2 separate regions of the Homo sapiens genome follow, and region 2 is linked to region 1. Evidence: promoter capture Hi-C in 16 types of primary human blood cells and fetal thymus (Javierre and others, 2016). All regions are on one chromosome and are shown on one strand. Each heading gives the region's core, a stretch centred on a gene start or on the middle of the fragment in contact. The rest is flanking DNA. Distances are from core to core; before and after follow the strand shown. Region 1 holds the start of C21orf58 (chromosome 21 open reading frame 58). Region 2 overlaps PRMT2 (protein arginine methyltransferase 2).

Region 1 (4,454 bases), core at 1,190-3,689:
CTTAGGTTTGCCTCATGTCCCTAATGTGGTATCCATCAGAACACCCCATTACATTGAGTTATGTGTCTTTAGGCTCCTTCTCAGACTTTCCTCGTTTTTGATGACCTTGACAGTTTCGAAGAGTACTGGGCAGATATTTTGAAGAATGTCCCTCAATTAAAATGTGTCTATTATCTCCTGGTTAGACTGGGACTGCAGGTTACAGAAAGGAAGCATCTAGGGGTGAAGTGCCACTGTCACCCCATCACATCAGGGACACACACTGTCACCTCGACTATAACTGTGAGGCTGACCTGCGTCACTTGGCTGAGGTGGAGTCTGCCAGTTTTCTCCACAATAAAGTGGCTCTTTCCCTCCTTTTCTTTATTGCACTCTTTGGGAGGAAGTGGCTATGTGTGGTCTACACTTAAGGAGAGGGGAGTTACGTTTCCCTCCTTGAGGGTGAGTATCTACAAAATTTATCTGGGCAGCTTTTTTTTTTTTTTTTTTTTGAGTTAGGGTCTCAGTCTGTCACCCAGGTTGGAGTGCAGTGGTTGCCTGGCCTTGACAGCTTTTTAATAGTTTAAAATGAATTGAGGCTGGGCGAGGTTGCTCATGCCTGTAACTCCAGCACTTTGAGAGGCCAAGGCAGGTGGATCACTTGAGCCCAGGAGTTCAAGACCAGCCTGGGCAACACAGTGAGACCCTGTGTCTACTAAAAATACAAAAATTAGCTGGGCATGGTGGTGTGCCTGTAATTCCAGCTGCTCAGGAGGCTGACATGGAGAATCACCTGAGCCCGGGGAAGTTGAGGCTGCAATGAGCGGTGGTCTCACCACTGCACTCTAGCCTGTGTGACAGACTGAGACCCTGCCTATAAAAAAGAAAAGAAAAAAGAACTGAAATAAGACCCAAGTCCAACATTAGCAGAACCTCTCTAGGATGTCCACAGAAACGACTCTGGGGTTCTGAGGAACACAGTCTAGGCAAACCTGGGCACATCCCCTCAGTCCCACAGTTGTAAATGTATTGTAACACGTAACAGTTGTGAGATTCAGGCGCGGTCTGGGTCTCTGTTCCTGGAAAGTGTGATCCTGTGGGTGCAGCCCCTGCTCGCTTGGCTGTGTTGCCTGCCTGGCCCCTGCTCTAATGAGCCCACTGCCCAGAGTTTGCTCAAACCACCCAATTCCGAGTCTGGGAACCAGGAGACCGCTGGACACCCCGCTCACCACACAGAAGACTGTGGCCTGAGTCAGGAGAAGGAAGTTTCTGGCGGTCGAGCTTCCACGGCTTCCTGAGGGAGGTTGCAGGGAGCCGAGATCGCGCCATTGCGCTATAGCCTGGGCGTCGCAGCGAGACTGTCTCAAAAAAAGAAAAAAAATTCTGAGCGAGATTCCAGGGCTTCCTGAGGGCGCGTTTAAGTTGCAGTTGCTGAGGAGGCTGCAAGGTGAGCTTGCGTCAGCGAGGAGCCACTCCAGCACGCTCGGGAAGGGCATCGTTACTGCTGCAAACAAGCACACGGCCCTCCACGACGAACCTTTTGCAAGTGAAGGCGCACGAACAGGCCCGGAGGACTACAAAGAAACCCAGAAACCAGACTTGGACACATGAAATAAAGGGGTTAGCTGAAGGAATACTCCACAGTTAAGGACGGCCTGCGCGAGGTCACCGGCCCTGTCTTGGTTTTTTGCCACTTCGCTCCAGTTAGTTTCCCAAGTTCCACCTACGCGCGCGCCAGCTGAGAAAACGCCCACCCCGGCGGTCCCGCCACAGGTCACAGGCGGTGCGGACCCCGGGACTGTGTCCGGGCTTCGGTGTCCAGAGAGCTCCAAGACACCCAAACCTTCCGTGGTTTCCACCTCTGCAAGCTTATGTTCCGCTGAGCTCAAGCTGAGGGACGACGACCTCATGCGACGTCAGTTTCCCCCTGGGACCACGAACCCACGGCCCCATTTCTCTTCTGTCTACTAAAAACCTTTTCTTTTCTTTTTTTTTTGAGACCTAAGACATCAGTGAGACACACGAGCAGACACGGGCTCGGTCGGGAAAGGCGGGAGCTCCAAGCGGCGGGGCCTGCAGGTCCAGGCGGTTCGCGGGCTTTCTGACCGCATTCGGCCGAGTTCTTCTCTGAAGACCCAGGACCCCCGGCCGAGGGGGCGCATTCGGCGGGCTGGTGGCGTAGGATTTTGTTTCGGGTTCCCAGGGTCCCGGCAAGGGTGAGGGAGCCCTTGCGGATCCCCTGAGATCCACCTCAGCAGCCTCCTCCGTGGTAGGCCTCAACTTCCCGCGGCGGCCCACAGCCAACGACTAATGCCTGAGCGGGAGAAAACGGCCTGGCCCTGTCCGGGTGGTTGCTGAGCACCGTTCGGCGCCGCCCGCGCCTGCAGGGAGCCCGGCCCGCTGTCCTGGTGGACACAAAGCCCAGGGGCCGCCCGCGCGGGACCAGCAGCGCGAACTTTTTGCCGCTCGGCCAGCCTGGCAGGGGATTTTAAAATCGGCCAATCACAGCGGGCGCCAGGCCTCCGCTTTCCGCTTACTGGTCCTGCCGTAGGAGGCGGGTACGTGAGCGCACCAATCTGTGGCCGGCGAGCGTAAAGGGCGGGGCTCCGCCCAGGCTGCACCGCCCAGAGCGCGCGTGCGCGAGACCGGAAACGCAGCCCCCTGATTGGCGGCGCGTGTCGGGGGCGGGGCCGCGGCTGCGTGACAGTTGTCGCGGGGGGAGGGCGAGCCCAAGCGCGGGGGAGGGAGTGTAAATAGAGCGAAGGCTGCTCTGTGTCAGCCCCGTCACCGCCGGGCGGCCCGCGCGGAGTCTGAGGGAGATGGAAGTTGAGCAAGAGCAGCGGCGCAGAAAGGTGGAGGCCGGGAGGACGAAGGTAAACATTAGGGGCTTCTTCTCTAGCTGCTCTGGCGTGAAGTCCTAAGGGCGGCTCCGGTGCCCGCCACCGCCCCCTGCCAGGAGAGGACGCGGTCCGGCGGAAGCCGCCGCGGAGGTCTCGCTTTTTCCCGCCGGCTCCGCTGGAAGCCGCCTCCTGGCCGCCGCCATCTTGAATCCGCCGCTCTCCGCCAGGTCCCGCCCCCGCCGCGGCCACAGCCAATCAGCGGCCGGGACGCGCGGCGCCTCTCGGGCGGGCCGGGGCGGGGCTGCGCCTGCGTCGGGGGGGGTGGGGCGCGGGCTGGGCGCGGTGCACGCCGGGGCGGGGTGTGGCTGCAGGGCGGGGCTACAGGGGCGTGGCGTGGCTGCACGGAGGGGGTGGGGCGCGGCAGGCGCTGGACCCCAGGCTGGATCTTCCAGTGGCTCCCGCGTCCTCCGGGACCGGGTGGCCTGGGGCGGGCGGCCGGTATTCGGGTGGCTGCTTGGTCTAGGGCCAGTTTCCTGCGCGGCCGGGGCCGGGGGCGTGGCGCGGGTGGCCTGCAGCGCCTCCCCAGGGTGCGCCTTCGCCTCGTCCGTCGGAGATGCTTTCCCCGCGCGTTTCTCGCGGCGTTGCAGTCCTTACTGTGTGAAAGGCCCCCGCGGCGCTCCCGGCCGCCGTCTTCTTCCCGCGCCCTTGGGCTCGCGTCCTGCCCGTCCGGGCCTGGCGTACGCTGCCGGGAACCCACGCGGCGCTGGCGCCGGGCGCCTTCAAGGGACGCGCTCCCGTCTTTCTCCCGCCCCGGGTTTCTCCGTGAAAAAGCGCTCGGTTTGATGGCCACTGTCCTAGGTTTCGTGGGAATAAAGCGCGCAGAGCCCATGACTCGGGGGCAGGAGAAAGGGAGTCCCGAAAGCGCGAGGCGGAACCGCGGGAGCAGGCCGGCCTCTGCGAGGTGCGCGCCGCTCCCCCCCAGGATGTTCTGGCTGGGGTGCTGGGGAAGAGCGGGGCTCCCGGGCACGGCGGACAGGGGACGCGGGGCTAGGCCGGGGAAGGGCTGAGGCGGGCAGGAGGGGAAGGGGAGCCCGGAGCCTGCAGGGAGCTGCGAACAGGAGCAGAGCTCCCAGGAGGGTGGAGGGGGGAGGGAGGGACAAGACGCCGCCTGTAGGGCGACGCAGGCCGCAGACCAGGTCTGTGCTATATCCCGACATGGATAGGTGTGGTGGAGGAGGACATGAAAATAAACGACATGAGGTTGACTTTGAAGGAAATATTTCCTTGAGAGACCATTTTCTTGTGTAAATGGCCTTGTGTAATTTTTCTGGGTCCATGAGCTTGTGTACTTGTGTTATCATTTACACAAATGTGTGTTCCATGCGTTTGTTTTTGTGGCCACAGTTGTCTTTTGAGGGAACAGATGTCTCCCCGTGAAAGGCTGATGTGGGATCGATCGCATACCTCTTGAGTAAGACGTTAGCGGGAGATGAGGCTCGCACATAGTCTCAAACTCTCGGATTTGAGGACTGAGCAGAGCTAGGCTGTGCCTTCTGATGGGCGATGCTCTGTGGATGTCCCTGGTGCTTTGGTGAGCTGTGTCATGAAAAATAGAACATCTGATTCCATAAAGGA
Region 2 (3,986 bases), core at 486-2,985, 340 kb after region 1:
TGTCTGTTAAAAAAGAAACCATAGGTTTTTAGGGATATGTAATGATATTTAGAAAGGGTTTAAGAGACAGTAAAGCTTGGCAGAATAAACCGTGTATACAGAATGGATGTTTGCTTGCATAAATAAATTTATATAAATATGTCTGGGGGATAAAAATAAGTATATCACAATGCTAAGACAGGCATATGGGGAATTTAAGCTTTTCTTTATACTTGTCCATAGTTTCCAATTTTTAAATTTGTAATTTTTTATCAGAAAAATAAATGTGTAAATATAGTGGAATCTTTATTAAAACATTCACTTTTATTTGCTATTTCAGAAGTTACTGCTTTGCTTATTTTTTACAACATTTCTGTGGTAAATAATCGGTGACTTACAAGCCTAGTGCAGCCAGTGATGGGGGTTGGCAAACGGTGACATGCAGGGGCCATGCGGCGTCTAGTGTCTGTTTCTGTGTTGAATTTGTGTAGCAACAGAGCAAGTATTTCTCCTGAAACTCAGACTCACTCAGGCCACCTCAGCCCTTCTAGTTCCTTTCGTTTATTATAGAGTAACCTACAGCAGGAATACCGCGTTCATTTACTGTTAATAGAAGATCCACAAAAGATTTTGAAATCAAATACATTCTAAAACTAGGCAAGACACGCTGCAACTCCCCTTGTCCTCTGGGTTATGAGGGGTGAGCGTTGGTTTCCGTGTGCTCAGATCCCATGAATGAGACCTCACAGGGAAGCGCCCAGTGACTGGCAGGCTCCTTAATGCCTCCAGGTCAGGCTCAGGAAGTCTCTGGATGCCTGGGTAGAGTCTGGGTCTTCTCAGAGCGGGAGGCACCCAGGGCCTGTGGAGGCCTGAGGGCTGCTCTGGGGTTCCAGGGCCCCAGATAGTGGCTTAGCATCCTGGTGACACAGAAGGGAGAGCACTCACCGCGGTCCCACGTGTGTGTTTTGAAGCCTAAGATGTTTGCAATGACTCTCAACAGTCGCTTTGACCTTTTCCCCTAGATCTTTAGCAGTTAAGGAGTTTTTTTCAAAGCCCAAGTATAACCACATTTTGAAACCAGAAGACTGTCTCTCTGAACCGTGCACTATATTGCAGTTGGACATGAGAACCGTGCAAATTTCTGATCTAGAGGTGAGAAAAAGATGAATTGCTCCTTACATTCGATAATCAGTGACCACGAAACACTCAGACCAGAGCCTGGCTTATCAAAAACCTTCAGTGAGTGCTGGGGGTGTGAGTGAATAACTAATTATTTTATTATGCAAATAAGTGAATTTATAAAACGTTTGCTACTGATTTTTTCCAGTCTTTTTTCTTTTTTACGTTCTATTTTGATTCTTTCATATTGTACACCATTTTATGTCTCCAGCGTCTTCATTTTAGATTTATGTTTAATATTCTCAGCATCTTCAAAATCAAATAAATTATATTTCGTTTCATTATGGTATTTGCATTACAGTTTTTTTCAAGTATTTTAAGCCACTCTTCATGACAGAATCGTTAGAATTCCCTCCGTGAATCCCTGTCTGTGGCCGCGCGGTGGCGCTCGTGGGCTCTGGGCGGTTTCCCCGCGCCCCCGCCCTGCCTGGCGCCCCAGCTGGCGCCGCGTCTGGAGATGGGGCGGGCGCGGTGGCGCCGGCGCGCTTTGGTTTTTAGTTCGTTCTGCTGTGGAAAGGCCCAGCCTGGAGCTCTCCAACTCCTTAACTGGAAGAGCTGAGCGCCGAAAAGATTCCGCAGAATCTGGGGTAGAAAATTGGGCGCAAGAAGCTCAGATGCTTGAAACGTTTCTGACTGAAGCCTCTGAACTCACGATGCGGGTTTTGGGGGTGGTTTCCCCAGGCTGGGGGGCTTTTCTACGGTTCCTGACGCATTCAGCGTCTGCGCGGGGCGCGTGGAGGGGGCCGCCCCAACCCGGGCCCTGCGGTGCCACGCGGTGCCCACGCGTGCCTTGTCATCTGCTTGACCCAGACCCTGAGGGGCGAGCTGCGCTTCGACATCAGGAAGGCGGGGACCCTGCACGGCTTCACGGCCTGGTTTAGCGTCCACTTCCAGAGCCTGCAGGAGGGGCAGCCGCCGCAGGTGCTCAGCACCGGGCCCTTCCACCCGTGAGTGTGCGGGGCGCGGGCACGGGGTGCGGGGTGGGGGGCAGGGGAGTAGGCGGGGTGCGGGGATGGGGCGCGCAGGAGGGGGTGGGACGCGGCGTGGCGGTCGTGGGGGGGTGGGGCACGTGGGGGCGCGGGCAGTGGGGTGGGGGCGGCGCGCATGGGGGCACGGGTGGTGTAGACACCGCAGCCTGTGTGCCCCCTTCCGGGTCTCGCCACCACTCTGGGCCCAGCCTGGGCGTCCCTCCGACAACAGCCCCAACGGGAGGAGCTCCCTGTCTTCCACCCCGCGAGGAGCACCACAGCTCTTCATGGTCTGACCCAAAGCGCCTCCACGGGGCGTCGGGGTTCACCTGACGTTTTTGGAGGTGCCTGTTTTTTGGGACACATTTCCCCGCCAGCACCCTGGGCATGTGTGGCAGTGGAGCTGCCTTCAGGGCCCTGCAGGCCTTCCCTTTGGGTGGGGTTGGCTACCCCGCTCTGGCACCTGCCCCGCTGACTTCCCAGCGTGGTGGCCCCGCGAGGGGACCCCGGCTCCAGGGAGGTCGCAGAGGTGCGGGGTTGATGGCCTGGCCTGGCATGTGGTCCCCATCACAAGAGTCCTGTGGTGGCCCCTCCAGTGCCATCACCGGGTGGAGGTGGGCAGCTTGGAGGCCAGTTATACCCATCCCCGAGTCTGGGGGCGTGGAGGGGGCAGTGACCTGGGGCACAGGCTGGGGTGAGGGGTGTGACCAGAGTCAGGGAAAAACTGGAGACCTGAGGAGCCCCCCACTTCACTGCTGGCCCCACCGTGGACAGTGGGAGTTTGAGGGAAGACAGAGCCTGAGGAACTTAGAGATGTTTCCAACGCAACCCAGTGCAGAATCATAGCGTTTTACTATTTCCCCCCAAATGTGACAGTTGTCCTCACCTTGTAACCTTCACAGAAGCGACTCCTTGGACCTGATTCTGTCTGTGTACACCACAGTTTAACAGCAGGAGCTAGATCACCAGCCTCTGCAGCTTAGGCAAGGGTGCAGGAAGGGGTTGCACAGCCGTCCTCCTGGCGGGCCGGGGAGTCGACACCACACGGGACCTTTAGTGCAGCTGTGTGTCCCCTGAGCTCCCGCATCCTCTGGGCCACCCAGGGTGAGCCGTCCACACCTCCTGGAATCTGAGTGGTCTCAGGAGCAAGCTTGTGTTTGGCATTGGCAGGATCTGTCTCACTAGCGTAACTTTGATCCCAGTGTATCCCATAGAGTCCCTTTAGATCACAGGGCTGGGGGTGTATATGTTCCCTGAGTTAGCCTGAAAAGCCAAGCTTTGTGTCCCCAGGCCCTCAGGGTGGACTGCCGGCTGTGTGGGTGCTGTTGGGGGCGAGAGCCAGTGCGAGCCTGAGTCAGCGCCCCGAGGGCCATGTGGAGACTGCCCTAGCTCAGCCTCCAGGTCACACGCACCCCTGTCTTGCAGCACCACACACTGGAAGCAGACGCTGTTCATGATGGACGACCCAGTCCCTGTCCATACAGGAGACGTGGTCACGGGTTCAGTTGTGTTGCAGAGAAACCCAGTGTGGAGAAGGCACATGTCTGTGGCTCTGAGCTGGGCTGTCACTTCCAGACAAGACCCCACATCTCAAAAAGTAAGATACGTAGTTGTAAGATTCTGTCCTGTGGGTGCCGGTCCTCAGGGAGACAGGCCTGGGTGGTGGTAGTGATGGCAGATGCTGGCCCACACTGGGGTCCACGCCTTTTGTGCAGGAGTGATTTAATCCTTACACAGAAAGCGCCTGTTGTCATTGGCTTCATTTCCCATCTGACAGCACGGGAAGTGGAGGGCTCTGGAAGGGAAGTCAGGGAAGTCATTCCCTCAGGTGACACGGTAAGTGAGGGAGAGCAGAGACCC

The links. Contacts are between HindIII fragments. The CHiCAGO score rates a contact against its expected background, and 5 or more counts as called.
Region 2: a fragment that was not itself captured here is called in contact with the fragment with the promoter of C21orf58 in region 1 in 1 of 17 cell types (naive CD8 T cells); the score reaches 5.2 in naive CD8 T cells.

The regions. Positions count from the first base shown.
Region 1 is chr21:46,321,431-46,325,884 of GRCh38, forward strand. C21orf58 (chromosome 21 open reading frame 58) reads right to left here and starts at 2,440. Exons shown (of 8, transcript NM_058180.5): 1 at 1,209-2,440. The coding sequence starts at 1,308. It overlaps PCNT (pericentrin), which reads left to right and starts at 2,726. Exons shown (of 47, transcript NM_006031.6): 1 at 2,726-2,852. The coding sequence starts at 2,799. RefSeq lists an enhancer at 1,969-2,108 and silencers at 2,459-2,788, 3,059-3,518. The HindIII fragment of the contact is 15,185 bases long and covers 1,846-4,454 here.
Region 2 is chr21:46,659,832-46,663,817 of GRCh38, forward strand. PRMT2 (protein arginine methyltransferase 2) reads left to right here. Exons shown (of 12, transcript NM_206962.4): 9 at 1,002-1,131; 10 at 1,969-2,105; 11 at 3,552-3,723. Among named protein-coding and RNA genes, the nearest start is that of PRMT2, 26 kb to the left of the region's middle. RefSeq lists a silencer at 1,465-1,574 and an enhancer at 1,675-1,724. The HindIII fragment of the contact is 3,077 bases long and covers 198-3,274 here.